2 separate regions of the Homo sapiens genome follow, and region 2 is linked to region 1. Evidence: promoter capture Hi-C in 16 types of primary human blood cells and fetal thymus (Javierre and others, 2016). All regions are on one chromosome and are shown on one strand. The core of a region is centred on a gene start or on the middle of the fragment in contact, and the rest is flanking DNA. Distances in the headings are between cores, read along the strand shown. Region 1 holds the start of FAM110D (family with sequence similarity 110 member D). Region 2 overlaps LIN28A (lin-28 RNA binding posttranscriptional regulator A).

Evidence for each region. Contacts are between HindIII fragments. The CHiCAGO score rates a contact against its expected background, and 5 or more counts as called.
Region 2: a fragment that was not itself captured here is called in contact with the fragment with the promoter of FAM110D in region 1 in 12 of 17 cell types (M2 macrophages, M0 macrophages, M1 macrophages and 9 more); the score reaches 15.0 in M2 macrophages.

What each region holds. Positions count from the first base shown.
Region 1 is chr1:26,157,457-26,161,020 of GRCh38, forward strand. It overlaps FAM110D (family with sequence similarity 110 member D), which reads left to right and starts at 1,623. Exons shown (of 2, transcript NM_024869.3): 1 at 1,623-1,670. The HindIII fragment of the contact is 9,541 bases long and covers 1-3,564 here.
Region 2 is chr1:26,415,555-26,419,242 of GRCh38, forward strand. All of the region lies in intron 2 of LIN28A (lin-28 RNA binding posttranscriptional regulator A), which reads left to right. Among named protein-coding and RNA genes, the nearest start is that of LIN28A, 6.6 kb to the left of the region's middle. RefSeq lists an enhancer at 2,986-3,557. The HindIII fragment of the contact is 1,772 bases long and covers 777-2,548 here.

The sequences.
Region 1 (3,564 bases), core at 373-2,872:
AGGTGGCTCACACCTGTAATCCCAGCACTTTGGGAGGCCGAGGCCGGCAGATCGCAAGGTCAGAAGTTCAAGATCAGCCTGAGCAACATGGTAAAACCCTGTCTCTACTAAAAACACAAAATTAGCCAGGCACTTGCCTGTTATCCCAGCTACTCGGGAGGCTGAGGCAGGATAATCGCTTGAACCCAGGAGGCGGAGGTTGCAGTGAGCCAAGATCACGTCACGGCACTCCAGCCTGGGTGACAGAGTTTGGTGAGCTTGGATAAGTCATTTCTCCTCTCTGAGCCTCAGTCTCTTCAGCCGTAAGTGTGAAAAATAATAAAACCTCCCCCAAAGATTGTCATGGGGATTATGACAAAGCAGCTAATGGCATTTTGAAAAGTGCTGTAGCAACAAAATATGGAACTATCACCAACAAAATCCCCCCTTTAGGTAATAAAAACCTTTTACCGGGAGATGGGCCTTGGGTTTTCAGACCCACTACTGACTTGACAGGCAGAGGATGCAGTTCCAAATGTGGATTTGGAGCTGGGCTTTGGGCATCTCTCTCCCCCCTCAGCTCCTGTTTCCTTACTCATTAAGTGGGGGGTCATTCCTGCTGGACGCCTGTCTAGGGTCCTTGTTTGGGGGCGGTCAAAGGAGATCAGAGAGCACAGACGGGAATGTGCTTTGCAAACATGAAAGAGGGCTAGAAAGGAGGAGGAGGGACTTGGGGAAGGTGGCCAGCCAAGGGGGGAAAGGAACCTTTGGCCTGAGCACTGGTCTTAGTCTGGGCTGGAGAGTTTAGTTTGCCTGCTGGGGAGAGGGGAGGTGTCTCCTATGAGGTAGGGTTTCACCTTGAGACATAAGGTGTCAGAGAAGAAACTCTGATGGAAGAAGCTCTAAGAGGCTCCAAGTGTGGGCAGAGAAGGAAGCGGGCCAAAGGACCTGGGCTTGGCCCTGGAATCAGCCCCTCATCACTGTCTTCCCAGGCAATCCCATCTGCCATGAAAGGACCTTGGCAGAGGCAGCTCCAGTGGGCTCCAGGGTCACCTTCATGACAAGACTTGCCGCCACAGGCTCACCTGCACATCTATAGCACCAATGCCCCCACCCTTAGGCTGCAGATTCCTGGTCTCGCCCCCAGGGAAAGCAGGCTTGACACCACCCAGCACCCAGACCAAGACAGGTCTCAGCCTGCTACAGAGGGAAAAAAGCAAGTTGACTAGAACCCTGTTCTGCCTTCCCATTCAGACTGTCAGAGCATCTGCCACAGCCCAGGGAGGGGGCTGATCCCACATACGGAGCCCCCACCCCAGGCCTTTGGAGGAAGCCTGGGGATCAGGAGGCCTTGTTTGGAGTCCTGGCTCTGCCCAAGCTCACAGTGCTTCCACAGCCAATCACCTAACCGGGCTGGGACTGTTTGACCATCTGTAAAATAAAAGGAGCTGGACTTGGTTCACAGGTCTCCACAGCGCAGGACTGTGATCAGGAAAGAGTTAATGGAGGCCAGGATCTGCCTCAGGAAGGCGAGGGTTAATTTGGGGGGCGGGGGGTGGAGGCTTTCTCTGCTTTTCCTGTGGAGAGTGAGGTTTGGCTGCCACCAAAGTTACTTCTAGTCCTTGCTGTCCACTCCTGCCCTCAGTCTGGACCTGCCCAAGGACCCCTGCAATTAGGCCTCCCATGCAGAGGTGAGTGTACCCTGAGCCCAGGGCTGGGGTAAGAAGGAACCCAGGGGCCTGAGGGCAGGGAGACTGGTGCCAAACTAGTGAGCCTAAAAGATGGCCCATGCCCAGAGCAGAAGCCTTGGGCAGAGTTGAGACCACAAGTTTCAGGACTGGGAGAAGGCAGGCAAAGGAATGGAGGGCCCGAGGCTGCCTGCCAGGCTTCTAGGGCGGGATGTCTGAGGTCCGGCCTCCAGGCTAGCCCAGAAGGCAGGGAAGAGGCTGTGGATGACAGACTATTTTGGTCCTTGTGATTAGGAACTTTTTATAGTCTCCCTGCTCAGGGCTGGGGAGAAGAGGAGAGGACAGAGGGCACCCATGGGGTCAGACAAGCAGTGCCTTCCTGGGACCTTGGAATCTGACCCACTGCCAAGGAGACTCCCTGGGAGACAGGGAGGGGGACACTGCCAGACTCTCCTTGGTTCCCAGGCCTCAACTACCTATGAGCAGACTGACTACACACTAGATGCTGGGTGCAGGGGTGGGCTGGACCTGGCAGGGTCTCTGCCCCAAGGCCTCTCACAGACTCCTTCCCCACTTCCCTGGCTAATTCTGTTCCTTTGTTGTCCCCAGATCCAAGGTCCCTCAGCCTCCAGGACTCAGGGGGAGTAGGGGAAGATAGGGGTGGGGTCGGGTGTGCAGGGCCATGTGGGTGGCCCATTCTGTTACTGCCAAGAGAACTGTCAGCTCTTGATTTACAACCCCTCCTCGCTCCTTGCCCCAGCAGAAGGGAGGTGGAAAAGGGTCATGAGGTCTTAGGATAAAAAAGGGACAAGGACCCTGGGGGCAAATTTCTGGGAGTGGGAGCGCAGGTTATTAGGAAGAATTAGTGGAAGGAACTTTTTAGTGAGGCAAGGGGCCCATTTCTAACGGAAATTGCTTGGTTTTATAGCAGCGGGAATACACGCAAAATATCAGTGAGTTCTTTTTTTTTTTCTTTTTTTTTTTTTGAGACGGAGTCTCGCTCTGTTGCCCAGGCTGGAGTGCAGTGGTGCGCGATCTCGGCTCACTGCAACCTCCGCCTCCCAGCTTCAAGCGATTCTCCTGCCTCAGCTTCCCAAGTAGCTGGGATTACAGGTGTGCGCCACCCCGCCTGGCTAATTTTTGTATTTTCAGTAGAGATGGGGTTTTGCCATGTTGGCCAGGCTGGTCTGGAACTCCTCACCTAAGGTAATTCACCCACCTCGGCCTCCCAAAGTGCTGGGATTACAGGCATGAGCCATCGCGCCTGGCCTCAGTGGGAAGTTCTGATAGGCAAGTGAGAGATCCAATCTGAACTGCAAGGCAAGAAACCTGGGTGACAAAGCAAGACTCCGTCTAAAGAAAAAAAAAAAAGAAACCTGGGTTCCAGTCCTGGCTCCTAACTCTCAATAGGACCTGAGCAAGCCCCCCTCCTCTCCAAGCCAGTTTCCTCTTCATGAAATGGAAATGCAAAGGTTAAACAAGGTGATGTTTACAGTTTGGCATTCTGCGATCCCCTTGGCAGGGGCAGAGTAGCTGGCAGTAGCTGATAGGGCCTGGGGACCACCTCCCTCTCCTGCCCCGATGGCCCTGCTGGGCCTGGGCAGGGCAGTTGGCTGCAATTACTGGAGGCTCCTACCCTGTGGTTATATCCCCGACCTCGGTGTTTGGGGGCGGGAAGGGTGGGCCCTGCTGGAGCCAGCCTGTGGCTGGGAGCCTTCTTGTCTTGGGCTCAAAGCTGCTGGGTTGGGAAGAGGTATTTTTTCCGGTTGAAGCCACTTTCAGGAATTGGGCCGGGACCAGCCCTGTTTCCTTTTCCAAGTGTCCTGCTTGCTAAGGCCTGCTTGCACGACCCTGTGGCCAGATTGGGGCACCTTCAAAGGGGAATATGTTTCTGAGT
Region 2 (3,688 bases), core at 413-2,912, 260 kb after region 1:
GGGCATCTTGAGGACCTTGGTGAATCAGAAGTACACTTAGCAGTCTGGGGTCCATGTTGGCAGAGATCTTTGTTCAGAGAAAAAGACTAGAGATACTGAGGGGTGTCAATTGTAGCTGCTCGCTTTCTGGGCTGGGCACAACATAGAATATGGCCTGGGCACAACATAGCACTATGAAAGTTTGTGGAGTGAATATGGGTAGATCACCACTCGGAGCCCAGAGAGGTTCCTCTCGTTTTTGTTGACAGAGTGGAAGCCACGGATTTAGTGGTCATCCATGAGTTATTTCTGTCTTAATAAGAAAAGGCAGCTTAAAAATAAATTGACTCGATTTTTCAGAAAGTTGGTAGAGAGGTAGGAAGGTTCATGAAGACATTGTGGAATCTTCTGGGGTCCTCTTCTTTCTGAGACATGCTTCTAGACAATGTCTTTTTTTTATTTTTATTTTTATTTTTTGAGATAGAGTCTTGCTCTGTCGCCCAGGCTGGAGTGCAGTGGCACGAACTCGGCTCACTGCAACTTCTGACTTTTGGGTTCAAGCAATTCTCCTGCCTCAGCCTCCCAAGTAGCTGGGATTACAGATGTACACCACCACACCCAGCTAATTTTAGTATTTTTAGTAGAGAAGGGTTTTCGTCATGTTGTCCAGGCTGGTCTCAAACTCCTGACCTCAAGTGATCCACCTGCCTGGGACTCCCAAAGTGCTGGGATTACAGGCATGAGCCATGATGCCCGGCGACAGTGTAAAGTAAAGGCTGTGACACCATCCTGAACAAAGCTTCAAATATGGGATGTTTCTACCCTCTGGTTGTTGACACTGCTGCCTGCCTTACAAGTGGTTTTCAGTAACATTCACCAGGGCCATTTAGTTTTTTGAACATTGCTAATCACACTCTACTGGAATTCTTGTTTTTTGGAGTAACTGCCCTAGGTAAAACTATGCCTCCTGTCTTCCTGCAGGCATGAATAGCAACCACTGGCCACATAGTCAGAGTGGGAGGTCAAAGGAGTTGGGGGAGAATACACAGTTGATACAGACTTATTTAACATGATCTCACCATCGAGGTTTTTTATTTTTTTTGAGACGGAATCTCTCTCTGTTGCCCAGGCTGGAGTGCAGTGGCGCCGTCTTAGCTCACTGCAACCTCCACCTCCCAGGTTTGAGCGATTTTCCTGCCTCAGCCACCCGAGTAGCTGGGATTAGAGGCACCTGCCACCATGCCCGGCTAATGTTTTGTATTTTTAGTAGAGATGGGGTTTCACCATGTTAGCCAGGCTGGTCTCGAACTCCTGACCTCGTGGTGATCCGCCTGCCTCGGCCTCCCAAAGTGCTGGATTTACAGGCATGAGCCACCATGACTGGCCCAGCGTGGTGTTATTTAATTTAGACAGGACTTGGCTTTTCTAAGCAGTAGAATATAAGAACTGAGTTTCTGGCCTAAAAGTCTAGGAACCTTTCATTCTTATCCCTGATCAAGCCGGTGGTTGGGTGGGGGCAGGGTGGGACGGGGAGGACAAGATGACTGCCCTAAGGAGCTGTGGAGATAAATCTACCCGAACACTTGAGTTCACAGCTCAGACCAGGTAGCGGGCCACTCAGTACCTCCTGGTATAGGCGCCCTCGGGCTTACCTTTGGGCAGACAGGCTGAGCAGCGCCATCTGGTGGAGAACTCCAGGCAGGAGCTACAGGGCCTGGCTGTGGCTGAGCAGAGGGGATCAGAGGGATTGGCTGCCTGCAGCCTTCTGTTCCAGACACCCCTTTCACCAACCTCCTTGACACACACCCTCCTTGACACACACACCATCGAATAACTGCTTCTGGGAGAACCGGTTGGTTCTCCCTTACCAAATCTTACCTCCAGGAATGAAGCTAAGTTAGGGATGTGACACCACAGGACTGAATCATTAAAATTACTTTCATCAGCTGCTTTTTTAAACGTAGCTACTAGAAAGTTTTCAATTATATATGTGACTTGCATCATAATGAATTGCACTGGGGAGAGTTAGGCCAGCTGCACTCAGCTCAGCTCTTGCCTCTTATTGCGACTTTAACCAAGGTGCTTATTAACCCCTCTGCCTCCATGTCCTCAAGCTGTAAAATGAGGGTCTTCATATCACCCCACTGCACCAGTTTGATATGAGGGTTAAATGAGTTACAACACGTAAAGTGGTTAGAATGCCACTTAGCCTACAGTAAGAATCAATTAGTAACAGTTATTTTGCATAGTACTTAGACATTCAACAAATGCTTGTGCAAGCTAAGAACCTAGAATTGAGGTAGAGACCTGCACTACAGAATCTTCCGGCTGGAATGGCCCTGGAAGAAGATCTGGAATAGCCTCTTGCGGAAGAGCCAAGAACCCCAGCTTTAATCTGCACAACTGTAGCAAGTACCCTGAAATTCTGTTGCCACTTCTGGAGAAAGGACACTTAGGTTCCTTTGTGTTGTTTTTTTTTTTTCTCTTCATACTTTTTTCTTTTATAATGTTTTCTTTTGTTTTTAACTCCACATTTCCTAAGTGACCCCTAAGGCTCATTCTATCTCTAAGCTTGCAAAGGCATAAATTGAAGCTGGGATGAGGTACTTGGTGTGGGTTGGATAGGGTAAGGCAGGCAATTACTGAGGTATTAAGAAGGGATCAGAAGGCCTAAGTACTTTAACTGGAGAGATTCCTTCCCTGTTATCAAAAAAAGAAAAAGAAATGCTTGGGGTGGGCGCGGTGGCTCACGCCTGTAATCCCAGCACTTTGGGAGGCCGAGGCGGGTAGATCATGAGGTCAGGAGATCGAGACCATCCTGGCTAACGCGGTGAAACCCCGTCTCTACTAAAAATACAAAAAATTAGCCAGGAATGGTGGCAGGAGCCTGTAGTCCCAGCTACTCGGCAGGCTGAGGCAGGAGAATGGCGTGAACCCGGGAGGCGGAGCTTGCAGTGAGCCGAGATTGTGCCACTGCACTCCGGCCTGGGCAACAGAGCCAGACTTTTTAAAAAAAAAAAAAAGAAAAAGAAATGCTGTCTGTTGTCTGATGCCACATTCCCCAACACAGTAGGCCCATGTAGGCTCCCCACAGTCCTAACTTGAAGAAATTGGGAAAGGATGATATGGGTCATGCCTTCTCTCCCCCTCCCCTTTAAAATAATTTATCTGAATCAATAATTCAGGATTGGACTGAAGAGACCCAAGGGGAGGGGGTCCTGTTTGGTTCTATCCATGAAGTGGGCAGTGCGCAAGCCAGAGAAGGGAGATGGCTGCTGATGGTGACTTTGGCAAGACTGCCTGGGGAAGGAAGAATTTTCTATATCTAGTTCTCTCCCGTGACCATAACCCCAACATAGAGAGGAAGGAAGAAACAGTTGAATGTGGGGAGGAGGGAGAGGGAGATGCAAGAGGGATCTGCTCCTTGGAACTCCAGGAATCTGACCACCAGAACCAGCCAGTGTCAACTCTTTGTTTCCTGGGGCTGGGCTCTACTGGGGGAGCTCAGGCCATGCCCCTCCCCCTAAGGTCTTTTCTTTTTGGAGGGGATGGGGAAGGGGGCGGGGCCCTGCTTTGTGTGTGGTTGGGGGTGGAATGGGGGTGGTACAAGAATTTCAGGCGCTTTTCAGATGCAGGCCCTGGGAGGCTGGCTCTGTGGGGCTGCACGCTGATTACCTATCTGATAAGAGAGGAATTCAAACTATGTGTT